Linked DNA regions of Homo sapiens: region 1 is linked to region 2. Evidence: promoter capture Hi-C in human tissues and cell types (Jung and others, 2019). All regions are on one chromosome and are shown on one strand. Each heading gives the region's core, a stretch centred on a gene start or on the middle of the fragment in contact. The rest is flanking DNA. Distances are from core to core; before and after follow the strand shown.

Region 1 (2,774 bases), core at 244-2,743, 150 kb before region 2:
CCAGATTTCCTTTCCTTGCCAAAGCACTGAAGAATCTTGGCAGCTAAACAAAGAATTGAACCCTACATTTTCTATCAGGTAAGTAGAGTTCTGGCTAGATGAAAGCATGATAACAGTAAAACAAAGAGGAAATCCTTAATACCCAACAGTAATGCCGCAGTTTTGCTCCACGGCCAGGGTAGGAATGCAGGATCTTTGGCAATTCTGCCAGGGGAGGTGTAGTCATGTGGTGGTGGCGTGGGAGTGGGTGCAGGGAGTGGTTTGATCAGCTGAACCAGAGCCGTCTGAGAGAAGGTTCTATGGCTCTCTTCTTCTGGGAGCAGCCTGCCTCTAGGAGGCTGCTCATTATTTAGGATGAGTAGTAAGGGAGAAATTACTGCCTCTGCTGATGATGATGATGGAAATGACGTGATGATTTAGAAAAAGAAAATGATGATGGCCGACATTTATTGAGTTCTTGCTATGAACTGCAGTTAAACGCAAATGCTTTTTGTGCATTAGCTCATGTCACAATGTCCAAGAGAAAAAAGGAAAGGAAAAACAAACAAAAAACAGAGGTGCTACTAAGTCACTTCCTTATAATTTCTCACCTAGAACAACCTGCAAACTAGTCTCTTTAGGCTTGTCCTGTTCAAATTGATCCTCCAACCTATCAAACTGACTTATTTAAGACAGAAATGTGACCACATCCTTCCTCTAACCTTTTAACCAGCTGTCTGTTGCCTACCAGGCAAAATCCAGGGCCCTTAGTATGGCTTTTAAGGAGAGCCTTTCAGAACTGAGCTCCTACTGCCTCTGCAGCCTAAGCTCTTACCACACCCGACTACCTTCTGGCCAAATCCCACTCTGTTATGACTCGGTTAAGGAAAGACCAGGCCGGGCGCGGTAGCTCACGCCTGTAATCCCAGCACTTTGGGAGGCCCAGGTGGGCGGATCACGAGGTCAGGAGATAGATACCATCCTAGCTAACACGGTGAAACCCCATCTCTACTAAAAATACAAAAAATTAGCCGGGTGTTGTGGCAGGCGCCTGTAGTCCCAGCTACTCGGGAGGCTGAGGCGGAGAATGGCGTCAACCCGGGAGGCGGAGCTTGCAGTGAGCCGAGATTGGAGATTGTGCCATTGCACGCCGGCCTGAGCGACAGAGCGAGACGAGAATCCGTCTCAAAAAAAAAAAAAAAAAAAAAAAAAGGAAAGACCAAAAACTGAGCAACTCGGTTCAGACTGTTTCTTCCTGGGAAGCTTCATGCTCACCCACTTGTTCAACTGCATTATAAATATGCTACACTGTGAGCTTCTGTAGGTAGAGTCTCAGGGCTTACTAGAGTGCTTGGCACAGTCTAAGGGCTCAGTACATATTTCCAAATGAAAACAATGAAAAGATAGACATGGAAGTCTGGCAGAAGGAGATAAAAATGTCACCTTCATTACTATAAAGCTGACAAAGGAGGGTATAGCTTACGTGCAGTGCAACAGAGGACTTCCTAAAACTGCATTCCAAAATTAGGTAGACTAACAGCTATTCACAGTGCACCTCCCCATAGGGGCCTGCCTCTGTAAACCAGACCACAAAGGAGCTCAGCCACTGTAGCTCCTGAGGTCAGCTAGCTCTCAACTACACAGAACCAGTGTATTTCCCAAATGCTCCCATGGAAGAGTTTCCCCTTCTCTTCTGGGGCAGAGTGAACCAACTGGGAGAGAAAGGCCAAGAGAGTTATAGCAACTGAAGTCCAACTGCTTTGTAAACACAGAGGCAGCTGAAGTTGCCCTGCCCCAGCCCCAATATCCTCCTGTGCACTGATTGATTTAGATGCTGGTAATGCTTCCTACCAGTGACAGGGAACTTCCAGTCTATCTGTCAATGGATCATCTTTTGATTTCCCCTATCTAATTTCCCCTGCTCAGGTAATCTATGAACACATATTGAATGACATACTTAATAAACATTTTATGAATATTTTTAAATAGTTTTGGCTTTTAAAAGACTGTGGCCAGGCACAGTGGTTCACGCCTGTAATCCCAGCACTTTGGGAGGTTGAGGCTGGCGGATCGTTTGAGCCCAGGAGTTCGAGACCAGACTGACAACACAGGGAGACCCTGTCTCTACAAAAATTAGCCGGGTGTGGTGGTGTGCACTGGTAGTTCCAGTTGCTCAGGAGGTGAATGTGGAAGAATCATTTGAGCCTGGAGGCAGAGGATGCAGTGACTAGCCAAGATTGCGCCACAGCACTCCAGCCTGGGCGACAGAGTGAGATCTGTCTCAAAAACAAAATGAACAAACAAACAAACAAACAAAAAAGATTATACCTTCCACTTGACTCAGTCAATTTAATGAAACCTAGAAAACATCTATTGAGTCCCTGCCAAATGCCACACACTGTGTAGTATAAATATGAAGACATCACAGTGGTCCTCTGGTATTAGCCAACCAGCCAAACCTACTGGATCTTTTCTCTTAGAGGAAAGGGAATATAGACGCTTGTTAGATCAAAAGGAACACATATAAATGTTGACAATGTTTTTTCTAATTTCCAAATGTTTTTCTGAGTAGCTAAGTGACTGTTCACCCAGAGTTTTAGACATTTCCCTTCTCCTATTGACAGCATTAATTAGAGCCAACACACTAAAATTCTAAAAAGTCATGGAAACCTCTGAAGGGCCATTTATCTTCCCACATCTCTCCCACATTGCCCCATCTCGCAAAGGCATGCAATTACTAAAGAGAAGAACTGGGTGAAAGAGTTGGATGGATTGTTCAAATCCATCACTATGAC
Region 2 (3,051 bases), core at 17-2,516:
AAAACTCCATGGTTGATGCTTGAGGCCCCCAGGAATTAGTTTGAAAGGTATTTAGAGCTGGAGTCCGGAAACCCTTGTACTACAATTTATTCAACTATTTTTCTATTGTTAGCCATTCCCATTTTTTTCCTTCTCTTTGCCTCTAAAAACGGTGTAGTAGATAATATGCAGTCTTAAGAACTAGTGTTGTTTTTCTATAGGATAATCACAAATTGGTGCCACTGCGTTAAAAGGCACTGGAATGGATGCATATTTTAAAATTGTAATAGATGTGGCCATATTACTTCACAACAAATTTTAGTAATTCACCTTCCTAGCAATCATACATAAGTGCTAGTGTCTAGCATCCTTGCCAATTATTTTTCTTTTTTGCCAACTGAATGGGGGGAAAAAGGCATTATTTTTTTAATTCCAGTTTTTCATTTAGTGAGTTTGAGCATCATGTTTCCTTATATGGGCTGCCTATTTATAGCTGTTGGCCAATTTTATTTGAATTATATTTCTTATTTATAGGAGCAGGCTGAGTAGAAGTATTAATGTATCTATGCTACAAAATCCATTTTTCTAAGCTCTTAACTTGAGGTGTCTTTTGCCATTCAAAAAGTTTAAATTCGTATACAAATATATTTTTTATTTATGATGTTGGGGTTTTGAAATCTTGGTTAAGAAAGTCCCTTCTGTCCCCGGATTATATAATATTCTCCTAAAATTTATTTAATCCTCTCAGTTGTATTCTTCCGTTGAAATCTTTTTTTACTGAAATTTATTTTCGCATATAGCACGAGGAGGGGGCCAAGATAATTCAGTATTTCGTTAATCAGGCATATAGATCTAGAGCGGGGAATGTCCGATACCATTCCAGGTTATACAGGCGAGATTAATGTCAGATCTTGGGAGCATTTCCAGTACAGGTTAAAACTGTCACGCGGTCGGCGGGATTGCAGGTGATGCAGCAAGCCTGGTGTCCTCGACAGGAGACGTTTCCCATCTAGGACCGTTGGATAGGGTTCCTTTCTGAGCTTCCAGCTCTGTAGTATCTATCAGCCCGCTGATAGGGCAGCCTCCCGACGCCACTCAAAACATCTTAAAGGCCCCAAGCCAAACCCCGCTACTAGTAGAACCAACAGTCTAAACGAAAGAGCCACGACGCTCTGCGCATGTGCGCTCTTCGCAAGCTGAAAATCTTGCGGGGAGCTCTTTAGCAAGTTCCGCCTTCCAGCCTGAAGCGCATGCGCAGCCTCGGTTCCGTTGCGTAGCGTGTCCCTCAGTGGGACACTGCAGGGTGCGGGGACAACTACGAAGATGGCGGTTGCGCGCTTGGCAGCTGTGGCGGCCTGGGTACCTTGTCGGAGCTGGGGCTGGGCAGCCGTCCCCTTCGGTCCCCACCGTGGCCTCAGCGTGCTGCTTGCACGGATACCTCAGCGGGCGCCACGGTGGCTCCCAGGTCAGTGTCCGAAAGGCGGGAGTAGGATGCGTTCTTTCGAACGCCTCGGGTTCCGTCAGTTACCGTGCCTGTGCAGTGCGTCTTTGGCGCCCGGTTCAAAAATGCTCCTCCCCCTTTCTCAACACCCCAGTTCTAGGCGCTTTGTAGACTTCTGGTGAAGGCTGTGAGGAGAGCTCTGCCGCGGCCCTGCGGCATTCTGGGCACCCCGGGCCCTCGCTGGCGTTTTACACTGTGCAGTTTAAAGAGCTCCTGCTCCTTACCTGCCTCCCCTGCATTAAAGGCCAACACTAGAAAAAATTAAAATGTGCATTTAATGCATTATTATTAGTTACTTCTAGGAATTTGTAGATTGTGACTCCTAAAATGCTTAGACTGACTCTCCTTTGAGTTTAGGGAACCTAACAATGCGAGGCATGTTCTTTGTAAAAGTGTAGACGCCCTCATAAGCCTAATTTCTAGTTCTGCTTTCTTGCTGCACCCACTCAGTGAAAGAACCATAATCATTATTGCACAAAGGAAACTAGAATTTGGGCTAAAAATCAGAGAACCTCTTATATGTATATATAGTCTTTGAATTAGATCCTTTTATTTTTTTGGCTTTGTGTGTGGTTCACACCATTGCCACGTAGCTGTCAGATGATGCATGGTGCTTGGAGTGGTAATTAATGTCACGGCAGAGATCTTTTGTATGGAGATTTTTGTATCCAGTTTTTAAACTTTTATAATCAGATTAACTTGCATTTAATTGTGCGCAACCAAAAGGCATGTTACACATGCAAATACTCCTAGTAAAATGTAGTATGTCAATTCATTAACCAGAGTATAATATTATTTCATCTAGTTAGCACTTATTCATTGAGCACTTATGCACCAGGCTTTGAATTAATCCTTATGTTCAAAGATGATTTATGAATATAATTATATGAATCTGTCTACTTAGAACTTACATTAAATAAATTATAATCATCTCGGGGAAATTATGTTTTAAGAGGTGATTTCTGGAAGAGGATAGTGAGAATTTTTTTTAGTGCTCAGCTGAGTAGATGGGAAATGAACATGAGTGGATCAGCATAACTGGTCCTTACCAAAAGTTTTAAATTTGGCATATTTCTCTATACTTTGAAACAAGCTTTTATGTAAAAAGGATAACTTTAAGGCCTTCAGTTACATCTTTAAAAAATCAACTTCTTAATTACAAAATGGGGAAAACTTTAGCAGCACACATGGATTCTCTTCTCAAGACTGAGAAGTTTTCAAAGTGGAGGACGGCTTCATTTAATATAAAAAAAGAAAATGTATTAGTCCAAAGACTCTAAGGAAGTACACAAAACTAGTGTCTTTGGAAAGAAGAGGTGGGATTATAAATGACTCTTTTAAAAAAATATCTACTTGTTTCTTAAGAGCAAGTATAGATTTTATAATGGGGGAAAATTTGAAAAAGATGAAGTAGGATAATCTTATGAAGTTCACCAATTGTACTGTTGTACTTAAATTACACTAAAATCTCTGTGTACCATTTACAGAAAGCCAAACCAACAAAACGCAAAGTGATTGCATAGGTCTATAAGAAATCTCTTTCCAAAAACGATACTATCATATGTTGTTTT

The links. The method cuts DNA at HindIII sites, captures the fragments that hold promoters and counts their contacts. A contact is called where the count stands out against the background at its distance.
Region 1: a contact is called between a fragment that was not itself captured here and the fragment with the promoter of ABHD10 in region 2, in 1 of the 25 tissues and cell types used here (heart right ventricle).

Annotation. Positions count from the first base shown.
Region 1 is chr3:111,826,520-111,829,293 of GRCh38, forward strand. All of the region lies in intron 2 of LOC105374040 (a long non-coding RNA gene), which reads right to left. It also overlaps a transcript of PHLDB2 not described here. Among named protein-coding and RNA genes, the nearest start is that of PHLDB2, 31 kb to the right of the region's middle. The HindIII fragment of the contact is 8,289 bases long and covers 1-2,774 here.
Region 2 is chr3:111,977,760-111,980,810 of GRCh38, forward strand. It overlaps ABHD10 (abhydrolase domain containing 10, depalmitoylase), which reads left to right and starts at 1,267. Exons shown (of 5, transcript NM_018394.4): 1 at 1,267-1,444. The coding sequence starts at 1,303. RefSeq lists enhancers at 909-1,468, 1,327-1,376, 1,387-1,436, 1,457-1,506. The HindIII fragment of the contact is 5,717 bases long and covers 1-3,051 here.